5 separate regions of the Homo sapiens genome follow, and all the other regions are linked to region 5. Evidence: promoter capture Hi-C in 16 types of primary human blood cells and fetal thymus (Javierre and others, 2016). All regions are on one chromosome and are shown on one strand. The core of a region is centred on a gene start or on the middle of the fragment in contact, and the rest is flanking DNA. Distances in the headings are between cores, read along the strand shown. Region 1 overlaps LOC105379117 (a long non-coding RNA gene). Region 2 overlaps LOC105379117 (a long non-coding RNA gene). Region 3 overlaps PJA2 (praja ring finger ubiquitin ligase 2). Region 4 overlaps MAN2A1 (mannosidase alpha class 2A member 1). Region 5 holds the start of FBXL17 (F-box and leucine rich repeat protein 17).

Region 1 (2,700 bases), core at 7-2,506, 1.1 Mb after region 5:
TTCCAGAAATTCTACGAGTGGGAATTTTTTCCATCAAAATAAACAGATATGTGCAAAAATTTATGTACAAGTTTACTCAGCTACTGTGTTATTTATAAAAGCAAACCATGGAAAGTATTGAGATATAACCGGCAATAAATTATCATATATCTTGAACATTGTGAAGCCATTGAAATGGTAGTAAGAATAACATTTAATGATAAGGAGAAGTATTTATATTAATTGAAAAATCAGGTTATAGAATATTTATAGTATATTTACAAATTTGTAAAACATATGTGCATATAAAGGTAAATGAGATAAAGTTTATACCTAAACATTTTAATAATTATTTTTGTGTGGTGGAATCAACATTAATTCTGTATGTGTTTCTGTATTTTCCAAAGTTTTTAATAATAAGTGTGTATATTTTATAATTCAAAAAGTCACAAATTGTTAAAAAATGGTTGGGCTTTTGAAGTATATTACAACATAGAAATTTCAAAAATGCTTTACCATGTTTAGATTATTACGTATTAAGCTTCATAGGATGATTATTGAAACTTTCTATGTTTTGTCATTCTCCAAATAGGTTTTTCTATACAAATTTATTTTATCCTTTTATTTACATTTAGGGGACATTTTCCCAAAGAAGATAGCAATCCAAATAATCTATAAGGAACCATCGGTGTACTTACTCTCTACAAAGCTCTCTGCTGCCAGCTGTGAAGAATATGAGACGGATGAGAAACATCCAGGCTGTCAGGGTACACAGAGATTGTCCAAGGTTATCCATCTATTCAGAGGCAGAGCCAGGAATTAACAAACGAGACACAGCTGGAAGCCAGGGATCCTTAAATCCCACTGTTGGCTTGTACTAAGTCAGGTATCTCTGCTCACCATGTGAGCATCCACTTCTCTCCTGCCATGCATCATACTGGTCCTGGAGACAGACAAGAGTTTTACCAACCATCACCAACCCAGATCTCCTCTTCCCTGTGAGTGCTGTTCCACTGAGGCTTGTCACTGTCTTCATCCTTGCCTCATCCTTTTTTCTTTTAATTTTAATTTTTGTTAAGGTTAATCATACCCTCTAAAGATCCAGTTGTCCACAACGTTTGCTATGAAACACAGTATTGCCTCACCCCTCCTGAAGTTTTTGTTCTTCCCCTAAGCAATCACTTTGATCTTTTTTACTGACTATATTGTCATGTAGGCTTCACGACTCCAAGTAGCATTCTTGCTGATTTTTCAGTTTCTGGCATTGTTAACTGGCTTCCAGCTATGTAAGATGAGACTCTATCTAGCTCCCTTTTTTTCCATTTCCCTAGTCTTCTCCACGTATGTAGTCTTCTCATTCTCTTCCTCCAGTAGAGCTATATTATAATTTTTGATAAATTAATATTACATATCAATATATTATGACAATGTAAATTCTGTTTATAGTGGAGACCTGTAGTAAACTCTGAACACTATTCCTTTCCTGCACAACATTTTGTTTTTCCTGGAGTTAAAATTGTTGTCATGTGCTTCCATTTTTTCATGCCTTTAATCACTATTCCACTTCTCACTCTTCGACAATTTTCTAAATCTTCTCTCTGGATGCTTCCTGAGAAGTTTTCTACTGAGTTTTCGTTTTTAACTGTAGCATTTTTATTTTGTAAAAGCTCTTTGTTATCTGAGTATTTCCTTATTATAGTAGCCTATTCTTGTTTTTGTTTGCATGATCTTCTCTTATCTCTCTGTAGATTGATGCTGTTTTGTTTTTATTTTTAGGTTTCTTTTTCCTGTATACTCTCTGTTTTCTATGTTGCTTTCAATCTATTTGTTTTGGTTTTTATCTTTCAAGTTATATGTTGGCTTCTAATGCCTAATAAGCCTTGGCTGTCTTCTCATATTTTACAGTATTTTATATATAATTATACATGCATTATATATATTTTTTATTTGACACATATTGTCTGTTTATATTTTATAGTATTTTCTAGCTCACTGGCCAATTTTTTCTCTAAGCAAGCTTCTTTGATTTATTTTTATTTTTGATTTTTAGGAATACGTAATAGTTGTACATCTTTATAGGGCACGTGAAATTTTGATACAAGCATACAATGTGTAATGATCAAATTAGAGTAATTGGGATATCCATCACCTCAAACATTGATCATTTATTTGTGTTAGGAACGTTCCAATCCCACTCCTCTCGTTATTTTGAAATATACCCACTGGCTACTTTGCATAAATAGGCCTTATGGATTGTGAATTTCATTGTGGGGGTGATCTTGGGCTATTTACTTGAGAAACTTCTGATGTTAGATCTTTAGAACTTTCTTTTTGGGTTAGTATTATTTTCCAGAGACTGTCAATCTTTTCTCTGGATGATGGTAAAAGCCTGGCTACCCAGCATATAGGGAGCTGAGTGGAGGAAGATGGGTACATTCAACTTAATCCTCCAGTTTTCAATATAGTGCTCACACATTCGATTTTATGTTTTTGCTTTCAGACCAGAAACCCTCTTGTCTCACACACTTCAGAAAATGAATTTCCAGTCCTCAGTAAATATAACTTAGGTCATTCAGAAATTATATAGGTCAGAATTTATCCAAGCTTGTCTGTCTGTAGCCCTGTCACATTTTGGGGGAAAGCATGCTTCAGAATTCCTCACAGCAAATAATAGTTTAATAAAAATAACATAAAAATGTGGAGCATCAGTTATGCATGTCA
Region 2 (2,700 bases), core at 68-2,567, 1.1 Mb after region 5:
ATTTATAAAGGAAAAAAAAAAAAAAAAAAGAAGAAACAACTGGGAATACCTTGGGATTCTTTTTAAAAAGCTCTGGGCCAAAAAAACACCAATTACCCTACCCCTTGAAATTCTAAAAGAAAAGAGAAAATTAAGCTGATTGAATTTATTAAATTTATTATGGTCAACGTATTATAGCAGAATTTTATTTCTTTTCTGTGCTATAAGTATATTTGTCCATTGTATAATCAATGTAGATGTAAGCCTCTTGACAACTGTATAAGATGTGGATTATGAATTTTACGTTTAAAATTATTATGGCTGTATCTCATTGTCGAATCTTTGTTTTTATGGCAAGTTTGCTGGAAATAGCTACAGTTTACTTGTTTTTATAACAAATACTTAGCTCTGTGACCCTCAGTTGTAACACTGGTCCTGGCAGGTGGCAGTGGGGAGTGGTCTGTGTTACCACTGATCCCTATATGTTATAATTTCCAGGAATGCATTGTGGACACAAACAAGAACTGTCTGTACTCTTGCAGGAAATGGAAACGGTACAAACCAGCATTTGAGTGAATGAACACTGAAAATGCATGCTGCAACCAACCACTGGATCAGGGTACAAGACAAATAATGGTTCTAGTGGAACTTGGGGGAAAAGCACTTTTACATGGAATTTAATATATTGTTCCCTGACTTATCTTTGTTTATGATTCTATAGTTGGATAATTGTTTTCCTCAATCCTATGACAAAAAGAGTTGGAGGCGTCAGGAAGAGCAAGAACAATTTGGCTCTCAGTGAATTTTTAATAAACAATGTGTTGCATCAAGAACAATTAAATGCTTTTAAATGTAAGATAATTTTACTTAGACAAATGGTTTTTGAGAAGTACTTTCAAGACAGAATTGAGTAGATAATTTCTTAGACTAATTACCTTATATCTAGCCATTCCAGTAAAACATGACTGGAGCACATATTATTTTACTTAATTTTTTTTCCATTTGGTTCAATTTTCAAATCTGAATACTTTTAAACATTGACTTCTATTTAAAATGTTCTGTTCACAATGCAGTGCTAAGTGAAAACATTAAACTGTGTTTTCCAAATTTTCTACGATAATCAGAAAAAGATTGTATATAAATAATTCCACAGGCAACTCTTTAGAGTATGTCTAAATGGCAAATTTGACTCGTCATTAATGGTAACTTAACATATCATGTACACCAGAAACCAGGAAAGGATCTATCTCATGTTCTCCTAAACCTCAGCCACAGTTGAACAACTGAAATCAATATACTTCTCAAGCAAGTGAATAATTCCTCAAAGCAATTTTTAAAAGGAAAAGAAAATTTTCTTTCATACAAGCATCTTTTCCCTCAGTGATTCTTACATTTGCCTCTTTTTCTCACAAATTTCTAAGATAGGAGATAGAGTTAGCCTTTATGTTTTAAAATTTTCCCTTGATTTACTAAAACACATATAAATTTCATGGTTTTTGAGGAACAATGACACAGAGGATAGTTGACTTAGGGTGAGGTTAGTATGAAGGAATAAAAATGTCAGTTTTTTTTTCCTCATAAATAAAAGTGAATTCCTAAAACTTTCTCCCATGACTTCAGGTAACTGGAGTAACATTTTTGGGAAGCTAAAGGCAAAATATCTCTATTTCATTATTTGGTGAAGACTGATAACCATTTGAGAAAAGTAGTTCTTATTGCTTGATTCAAGTTCCTGGAGAGCTATGGCTAAGATTTTTTTCTATTATACTTAGTATATAATGTAGTATAATTATTTGCATATTGGAGCCCTAAATTTGTTATATAAAAATAGCAGGTAGTGTGTATGAAAGAGAAAGAACTATGATACAAAAAAATCTGGCCAGCAGAGCTGCAGCTTTGCTGTGCAAAGGGTAGAATTATAATTTATTTTTTGTGACTGGCCCAGGGTAGCTGCAAAATAAGTGGCTCTGATAACCAAACAGATAATAGTAACTATACTTTTAAAAAACTTGCAATGATTTAATAGGACATTGGACACACGATTTTAATAGTCTGCATGCCTCCAGAGGTATCACTGTTTCTCAAATGGAAAAGCCAAAATGAAAATTCTAGTCCCTGTGAGAAGGTGTTAGAAGAAATCATTTTTAAAAACCCAAAAGGACTCACTTTATTATTTTTGACAAGAATTTCTCCCTAAATATAAAGATAAGATAGCATTGTAAAAGTGACTGTAAAAGAAAAAAACCCACTGTAAGGCTATTAGGGACAGCTGGCTGAACTGCTATGTCAGAATACATTTTTATTTCTTTAAAAATAAAACTTGAATATTGGAGTAAAATCTTATTTAAGATTTTTAAATATATAAAAATGCATACTTGTTATGCAACTTTATCAGATCTCAACATATTGCACATTTTGCCTATTTATTTCACAATTTATTTTGTAAAATAAATGAAACAAAGTTTTTTATGTTTTCTTTCCCTGGAAATAACAACTACCATTAATTTGATACTTAAGTTTCCAATAATTTCTTTATAGTCCACTGTTTGTCTTTTTTTTCCTTATTTGTGGTATCTTTTGATACACAGGAGTTTTAACATGGAAAAATTTATCACTTTTTATTTTGTGCTTTTGGTGTCTTATTTAATAAATTCTTCCTTATCCTGAGACAAAACAATAAATTTCTACATTTTCTTCTTACAGTTTTAAAGCTATGGTTTA
Region 3 (2,700 bases), core at 130-2,629, 1.0 Mb after region 5:
CTATTTTTACCTATCAAAAATTAGAAACTAAGCTTTACAAATATTCAATATATGGATCAAAACCAGCCTTTTAGTAAGACCACAGGTCAGATGATCATATGTCACTTACTGGTACTCAAGGTACCCAGAGGAAAAAACAAGAAGTACTCAATGTAGAAGAACTGACTTTCCTTACCTGCTGGCTCCTTTTCAGTGTACTGTGACATATATGGCAGCGTCTGTGTGACCAGTTCAGTAGAATTATAGATGTGATTTAGTTTTTATTCACACTATGGACAAGCCGCAGAAGATTCCTACAAAGAAACAATGAATTGAACAATATATTAATAAAAGCACAAAAATAGCAAAACTGATACTTCTGCTCCTCCTAGTGAAGTCTTATAATAAAACTTAGAAAAATACAATGTGATGTAGCCAGCATGGTGGCAAATGCCTGTGATCCGCCTTAGATTACAGCACTTTGGCAGGCCAAGGCGAGCAAATCAGTTTGAGCTCAGGAATTCGAGAACAACCTGGCCAACATGGTGAAAGTCTGTCTCTGCAAGAAATACAAAAATTAGCCAGGCGTGGTGGTGCACACCTCTAGTCCCTCAGGAGGCTGTGGTGGGAGGATTGCTTGAGCCCAGGAGGTGGAGGCTGCAGTGAGCCGAGATCATGCCACTGCACTCCAGGCCTGGGTGACAAAGTGAGATCCCGTCCCAAAAATAAATAAAAACAAGAAAAATACAACACAATTTGACAAGCCAATCAAAAACTCTCAGAAATACCAAAATGGCTATGTGAAATACAGATTTACATCTGCTCTTGATAAACCTTGCCTAAGTATATATCATCCTTAAGACTGTCAATGACAACAACACATACATAATTTGTAAGTAAACAAACAAAAATATCAGAAGTACTGACTCAGGTATGTAACCAAACTATTTGGGAGTCTACTACACTGTGCTATCATTGCTTCTCTGTCAAGCAGTAAAGTTCCTTTAGCCCTGGAATTGCTAAAAGGTAACTGTAAGAATACAAACTTCATTTTTTAAAAATGTGTAATGGCTTATAACAATAATTAATGTGTGTAAATAATGATGTATTTATTCTTTGCAATAGTCAGTTGATCAGATAATTTAATCCCAAATAAGAACCTATTTTCAATCAGGAAAAACTACAATTTATCATGGAACAAATACAAAAAGAACTTCTGTTTTGAAATTAATGCATTTATTTACTATTTGAAAAGTACTATTTGAGAAGTTGCAACCTGTGGTTTTTTTGAAAGTTTGGTTAAGTTTTTATTTAAACACCTTATTTATTTAAACACTTGAGCTACTGCTAATTGCTCATCATTAATGCAATAGCTCTGCAAATGAGTTTAATTTATATGTTACCTGTCTAATCACAGACAGATATATATTAACATACGTAAGAGTACAAACCCACATTCACCCATATAATTTATAAATTCAGTAACAAGTTATGATCCTTTAAAGTATCTGAATCAAAAGAGGCTGTTAGCAACAGCTAAAGAGAAAAGGAATATAAAAATAATAATAATCTTAACATACTGGCAAAAACATAGGTGCTAATTAACAGTGTTTTAACTTTTTTTTTTTTGAGGGCGAGTCTTGCTCTGTCGCCCAGGCTGGAGTGCAGGGGCTTGATCTCGGCTCACTGCAACTTCCACCTCACGGGTTCAAGTGATTCTCCTGCCTCAGCCTCCCAGTAGCTGGGACTGTAGGCGTGTGCCACCATGCCCGGCTAATTTTTGTATTTTTAGTAGAGACAGGGTTTCACCATATTGGTCAGGCTGGTCTCAAACTCCTGACCACGTGATCCACCTGCCTTGGCCACCCAAAGTGCTGGGATTACAGGCATGAGCCACAGTGCCTGGCTGAAATGTGCGTTTTATTCTGAGATGGAAAACCATCAAAGTTCTGACCACAGAAGAGATATTTGACTTCTGTTTTAAGAAGAATGCTCTGGCTACTGTATTGAATAGCATGAAGAGGAATGAGGTCTAAAGCAGGGAGCACTGTTAAAAAGCTATCAAAATAATACTGGTAAGAGATCATAGTGGTTTGGACCAGGGTTAAAATAAAGATGGTAAGAAATGACCAGATTCTGGACATATTGTAAAAATACAATCAACAAAATTTACTAATATAGGATATGAAAGAAGGTCGAGGTTGACTCCAGGTTTTACAGGCTGGGCAATGGGAAAAATGGAGTAAATTTCAATTAATGTAGGAAAAATTGTGGAAGAGCCAGATTTGAAGAAAATATATTCAGTTCAGTTTTGGATGAGTTAAGTTTGAGATATCTATTAGACATTCAAATGGAAATATTAAATAGGAGTCTGGTGTTGACTGAAGAATTATGAGCTGTTAGTATAATTTGGGAGTTGTCAGTGTATAGATTATACCAAAACAGGTATGAACTTGGATGAGATCTCTAGGTGTACATGGAGAAGTGAAGTTAAGCCCTGAGAAAATCAAATATGAAGAGGCCAGGGAAAAAGAAGCAGAGATTGAGTATCCCTTTTCCAAAATGCTTGGAACCAGAAGTGCGGATTTGGGATTTTTTCAAATCTTTGAATATTTGCATATACATAATGAGATATCGTGGGGATGACATCCAAGTCTAAACAGAAAATTCACTTGTTTCCTACACATCTTACACACACAGTCTGAAAGTAATTTTATACAA
Region 4 (2,700 bases), core at 1-2,500, 1.3 Mb after region 5:
GAAAGTATGAAGTTTTGCCGGTTTTTTTTTTTTTTTTTGGTCGTTCACAATTACTGTTTCCTCAAACTGCCATGCTTCTTCTAGAACTGATAGTGCTTTGTTTCCTTTGTGATGAGAAGCCTTTCCCTTCAGGGTGAGGACTTCGGGGCTGAAGATGTACTTTGCAGCAGTTCCCTTCTGTTTCTTCATACCACAGATGTAGAGGAATGTGGCATTTATGGGTCCTGGCCTTGGTGGTAACATTTTACCTGTAGAGCATCGGAACATTGAAGACTGAGAATGTGAATCATTCTTAGAATCATTTTCTACATAAAGTCCTGAATTGGTGTTTTTAGAATCCAGTGAAGCAGTCATTCTTTTAACAGTCACCAGCATTCCAGAAAAGTCATGAAAAATTCAGGCACAGAATTGTAGAGTAGGCTGGGTCCTTCCAGGTCAGGTAATTTTTAGTCTTTGATTTTTCAGATAAGGGCACCGAGTCACACATAAACTAGACCTCAGCAATTTGCCCAGTCACAGGATACCTGGGACATGCATCCTGACTTATAATTCACTGGCCTTCCACTGTACTATACCCATATCCAACATATATTTGAAAATTTACTGGGTTAGGTAATATGGAAATTGTGGTAGACATATGTTACTTGTTTTGAAAGAACTTTTTAGTTATTTAGGGAAACAAAACTGCCGTTTGTGAAACTATTAGAGCCAGTTAAGTGCTATTATTCATTAGAAGTTAAAGAGGTTAGAATGTTGCCTGGCATATAGTAAGTGCTCAGTAAATGCTAGTTGTTACCAATGGACAGAGATTTGTAGCATACCTATTATGTAGCAGGCACTGTTCTAGGTTCTGGGAATACAGGAGCTAAGACTAAAACAAGAGTCAATGATATTATTTTACATTCCTGATATAAAGACAAAGGCCTTAAAGAGAACTCAAAAACAGAAACAAGTTTTGGTGATGGCCTGGCTTAAGTTGACTAAAGGAGAGGGTAAAGAAGCTAAGCTTTCCCTATGGGACGATACTTTGAAGGGAGAAAGAAAATTGCTAGTGTAAAGTACGGTGCTTATGAAGGCTTTGAATCCTGGAGGAGATTGGCTTGATTTAGAATCTTTGGTGCCTGTGAAGAGTAGTTGGGAAAACACTGTAGGTAGTTCAGGATCAGATTGCAAATTGCCCTGAGAGTTTGTCTGAAGAGTTATGAGTTAGATGGTAGTGAATCACTCCAAGTTATTGAATATACCAGGAAGCTGCTTGAGAAAAGCAGTGTGAGAGAATTAATTTTGTAGAAAATTTCAGACCTGGAAAGGAGCTAAGAGAATATTCAATCTAGATTATTCTGGTAGCTGTGTGTAGGAAGATTCAAGTAGGAAGGCAGCTGAGAATCTGTTTGAGGTAATATAGACATAAGGCAGTAAATCCCTGTACCAGTATTGAATTGGCTAGAATCGGGAGGATGAAAAATGTGGAGACATTTTGTAAAGAGAAAGACCAAAGCTTTTTAACAGGTTTGATCAAGGGTAATGATGAGTGGCTTGAATCAGAAAATTTCTCCTACCTTTTTCCATTGGGGTGTTGGAGACTGGTTGTACTATTTGCAGAAGGAGATAGGGACAAGCTGATCTGGAAAGTCAAGTTCATTTCATTTATGATGACGTGGATGTTAGTGGAAATAATCAAGTGGGCTGGAAAGCCAGTGAGAGATCAGGGAAGGGAGATGCTGATCTGGTAGTCATCAGCATAGCCGAGAATGAATGAGCTCACTTGGGGACTGTGCTTAGTGAGGGCAGGGCCAAGTACATTTCTGATAACCAAAAGCTGCACATCTTACATTAAGAATATTTTGTAGCAGATGTTAATGAAATAAAGCAGCTTGTGTTCAAATTGTCAGAAACCAGCAGCTCATGGATCAGCTTACCTAAGAAAAGATAAGATGATCAGAAGGAAGGATTTCAAAGAAGCGTTTTAGTAGAGTTTAAAAAAGACCCTTCTCATCTTTGGCACAAATGATAAGACTAAATTATTTTTTTTCTGGGTTAAGACAGAACATAAATTGTGTGTGTGTGTGTGTGTGTGTGTGTGTGTGTGTGTCTGTGTGTGTAGGGAGGATGGGCAGCCCGGTGGTGGAGAGGGAGAGAGAGATTTATTAAGGATCAAAATGCAACACCCCAAATAGGGGGCTGAAGTTTGAAAGTTGTTCTGAAAGTCAGACAGATTTCTGAGAATACCCTCCAAACTGCCTCTTGTTGATAGTAAAGAAAAACTCCCTTCTGTTGGGCTGGTAGGTGACCCCATGAACTGGAGAAGTAAAAACTGTCTTTGACCCTGGGCTACCTCTGGAAAATTTGTAGGGTCAAATAACAACACTTGATGTATAGGATATTTCTTGCTACTTTTAGGTAGAAGATCCAACCAATAATTGTTTTAAACAAAAGAGATTTGAGAAGAACTCCAGAAATTTGTATCCTTAACTCATCTTTGATAACCAATGGTATGATATTTAGAAGTTTGCTATTAATGTATTTTTATGTATTATGTTATGTCTTACTACTGCATTTGTTGCTTCTGTGTCTCACCTTGCCCTTGTAGACCAGTTGTTACAGATGGATTTTTATAAAGAAAGGCAATAGGAAAGAATTTGTAAAACTTTAGAGTCTGTAGTGCTTGTATAAAGAGTAGTTTGGAAATTCAGAATTTAT
Region 5 (2,700 bases), core at 108-2,607:
TTCGGGGGGCGGCTCCCTGTGACAGTCGCAGGGGTTTTCGGGGGACTCCCGACAGTCCGCGTCGCCACATTCATGCTGCTGCTGGGCGGACAAGGGGGCGGTGCCCCCGGCTCGGACAGCGTCCCCGCCAGCTTCGGTGGGGGCACCTTCGGAGGTGGGAGAAGAGGGCGGAGGGCAGAGCGGCTGCGGGGGCTGCTCCGGGGCCTGGCAGCAGCCGGCGTCGGGGGGCCGGGGCGGCGAAGCGCCTCCCCCCGCAGGCCCTCCCCCGCCACCGCCGCCGCCGCCGCCGCCGCAGCCCCCGCCGCCGCAGCGGGGCTGCTTGCAGGGGGTGCAGGCGGGGACCCCGGCCCCCTTCCGCTTGCACACCATTTCGGGGGGCGTAGGGAGCTCGGCCGGTGACGGTGTCGGCCCCCGGAAGAGCTGCACGGCGGCGGGCGGCCCCAGGAAGCGCACCGGCCCCAAGCTGGCCAGGAAGAGACTTCGGCCCTGCTGCTCCCAGGCGGCGGCCGCAGCCAGCCCCAACTCTTTGCAGCAGGAGGCGGGCGACGAAGCCGAGGCGGCAGCGGCGGCGGCGGCGGCGGCCGAGGATAGCAGGAAGCGGCGGGCAGCAGCGGCGCAGTCCTCGGCGGCCAGGGCCGCGTAGCGCCGCGCCAGGTGCTGAGAGGAGGAGGCGGCAGCGTAGGCCCCGTCCCGCGGCGGCGGCGAGAGCGGCGGCTCCTCCTCTGGGCCGGCGGGGGCGGGCGCGCCGGGACTGTGCACGATGAAGCAGAGCATGCAGGGCCCGCGGAAGAAGCAGTCCCGGCTCCGGGGCGCCGCCGGCTGAGGGGGCACCTTGGCTGGGGTCCGGCGGGGCAGCCTGAGGAGAGGGCGCCGGCGGCGGCACCAACTGCAACAGCGAGGCCTCTTCTGGCTCGGGCGGTTACGCGGCTCCTTCGAGAGAAGGTGGCCCATATAGAAGGCCCCGAGGAGGGGGACCGGGACGGGAGGGAGGGAGACCCAGAGAGGCGGGCTCCCGGCAGCGGGGCAGGCCGCTCGCTGGCTCGGCCCCCGGAGGGGTCGCCCTTCCTGCGCACACACACGCACACACGGGCACACACGCGACGGTGGGGGGTGGGCGTCAGCTGCGGGCCGCCGGAGTGCCCGACGGGGGCTACATGCTTTGCCCAGGGAAGCCGGGAGAACGATGGGCGCGAGCTTTGGGGACGCGAGGGAGGGAGCGAGCGAGCCTGCCGGCTAGGCGACCAGTCCGGGCCCGGCCAGCCGGCTCAGTCAGTCAGCGGAGCGGCCGGGGAAAGGCCGGGTCCCGCTCGGACCATTTTAACTGCGGATCCGCCGCCGGCGCGCGCACCCGCGACTCTGCTCGGAGCCGCAGGAGCGCGCGGCCCGTTCCGGCAGGGGGCGGAGCCAGTTGCGGTGGCGCGCTCGTGGCGGGGACGCCGGCACCCGGCTGCTCACCCGGGACGGCCGTCACACCGGCACTACGGGAAGAAGCCGGCCGGCTAGGGCACGGAGCTCTGGGCTTGCGGGGTGCGGCGCACGCCCCTCCCTCCCACCGCCTAAGGTTTTTCCGAAGCTGCTGGGCGTGCGCCGCGTTTCTGAGGCGGGAGGAGACACTTCCGAGCCAGCTGTGTGACATCCGTTTACACAGCCGCGCTGACGTCTCGAGGTGTAAGTTCAAGAGCTGCCATTGGCCGGGAGCCGCTGGGCTCTTCCCCTCACCTTCCACCCCTGTCACCACCCCTGACTCGGAAACCGAGGCCACTTCGAAGCCGCGAGGCGGGTTCCGCCGGAAGGGCCAGTGTGGGCGCTGACCGCGCTTCGGGCAGAGTGGCAGATGCGGCCCCTGGGTGATGCGCACCGAAGTCATGTGAGGGGTTGATTGGTTGTGCGGCACCACTGTTTACCCACTTGTGTTTTCTTAATTGTTGCGTACTACTGCCTTTCCACAACTTTATTTCAGAATGAAAGCATATATCAAATTACCTGTGCACAGCAGAAAGATAACAGCTTCCCCACCCAGTGAGCCATTCAACACCCAGGCTACAAACTGTAGATCACTTTATTGTCTACACCCTCGGAATCCTGTCTAGCCGTCTGTTGTATATTTTAAACATGACGGTGCAGTGCCTGCTATATGACAAACGTTGGTGATCCAGATGAGAAAGAGGAAACAGCTATGCAGGCAGTCCTTTAGAAGGTTTGACTATATCGAGGCTAAAGAGCTAGGGCAGCTGCTAGAGCGGTACCTGGTGCGGAGAGGTTAGCTTTCACAAGCGAAAAATTAGAGGAGGCAAATACCATGGGAATGAGCCACTCTAGTGAGAGAAATAAGAGGAGAAGGTGGAATGGAGAGTGCTTTAGGAAGGATACTTTCTTCATTGTGATTACAGAGAATGAGGAAAGGTAGATAAAGGACGGATACAGAGAGGTGGATGTTTCTAGCAGGAAGGTGAAAGAGTTCCTTTCTGTTGGTTTCTGTTTTGCTTCAGATAGAGCTTGGTTACCTGCTGAAGGGTGGAAGAGAAGTGGCAGGTGTTTAAAAAAAAATCTGCTAAGGATAACTTGAGAGAGCTGACTGAGGAAGAAGTATTGCAATATTCAAGGCCCAGTGGCTTGGAGAAGACCACTGTTGGAACCTACATTGCTATTCCCACTATAGTGGCCAGCCCCACCCAGCCTGCTCTCAAACATGCTGTCAAA

What was found. The method cuts DNA at HindIII sites, captures the fragments that hold promoters and counts their contacts. A CHiCAGO score of 5 or more calls a contact.
Region 1: a contact is called between a fragment that was not itself captured here and the fragment with the promoter of FBXL17 in region 5, in 1 of 17 cell types (total B cells). The highest score is 5.2, in total B cells.
Region 2: a fragment that was not itself captured here is called in contact with the fragment with the promoter of FBXL17 in region 5 in 1 of 17 cell types (monocytes); the score reaches 5.3 in monocytes.
Region 3: a contact is called between a fragment that was not itself captured here and the fragment with the promoter of FBXL17 in region 5, in 1 of 17 cell types (naive CD4 T cells). The highest score is 6.5, in naive CD4 T cells.
Region 4: a fragment that was not itself captured here is called in contact with the fragment with the promoter of FBXL17 in region 5 in 1 of 17 cell types (total B cells); the score reaches 8.4 in total B cells.

What each region holds. Positions count from the first base shown.
Region 1 is chr5:109,498,761-109,501,460 of GRCh38, forward strand. All of the region lies in intron 4 of LOC105379117 (a long non-coding RNA gene), which reads left to right. Among named protein-coding and RNA genes, the nearest start is that of PJA2, 90 kb to the left of the region's middle. The HindIII fragment of the contact is 1,476 bases long and covers 519-1,994 here.
Region 2 is chr5:109,475,989-109,478,688 of GRCh38, forward strand. The region is part of intron 4 of LOC105379117 (a long non-coding RNA gene); the gene reads left to right. Among named protein-coding and RNA genes, the nearest start is that of PJA2, 67 kb to the left of the region's middle. The HindIII fragment of the contact is 5,589 bases long and covers 1-2,700 here.
Region 3 is chr5:109,383,228-109,385,927 of GRCh38, forward strand. PJA2 (praja ring finger ubiquitin ligase 2) reads right to left here. Exons shown (of 10, transcript NM_014819.5): 2 at 176-293. The coding sequence starts at 206. Among named protein-coding and RNA genes, the nearest start is that of PJA2, 25 kb to the right of the region's middle. The HindIII fragment of the contact is 2,699 bases long and covers 31-2,700 here.
Region 4 is chr5:109,700,261-109,702,960 of GRCh38, forward strand. All of the region lies in intron 1 of MAN2A1 (mannosidase alpha class 2A member 1), which reads left to right. Among named protein-coding and RNA genes, the nearest start is that of MAN2A1-DT, 11 kb to the left of the region's middle. The HindIII fragment of the contact is 492 bases long and covers 1,005-1,496 here.
Region 5 is chr5:108,380,741-108,383,440 of GRCh38, forward strand. It overlaps FBXL17 (F-box and leucine rich repeat protein 17), which reads right to left and starts at 1,358. Exons shown (of 9, transcript NM_001163315.3): 1 at 1-1,358. The coding sequence starts at 951. RefSeq lists silencers at 209-288, 309-1,058, 1,259-1,508 and an enhancer at 1,609-1,728. The HindIII fragment of the contact is 13,285 bases long and covers 1-2,700 here.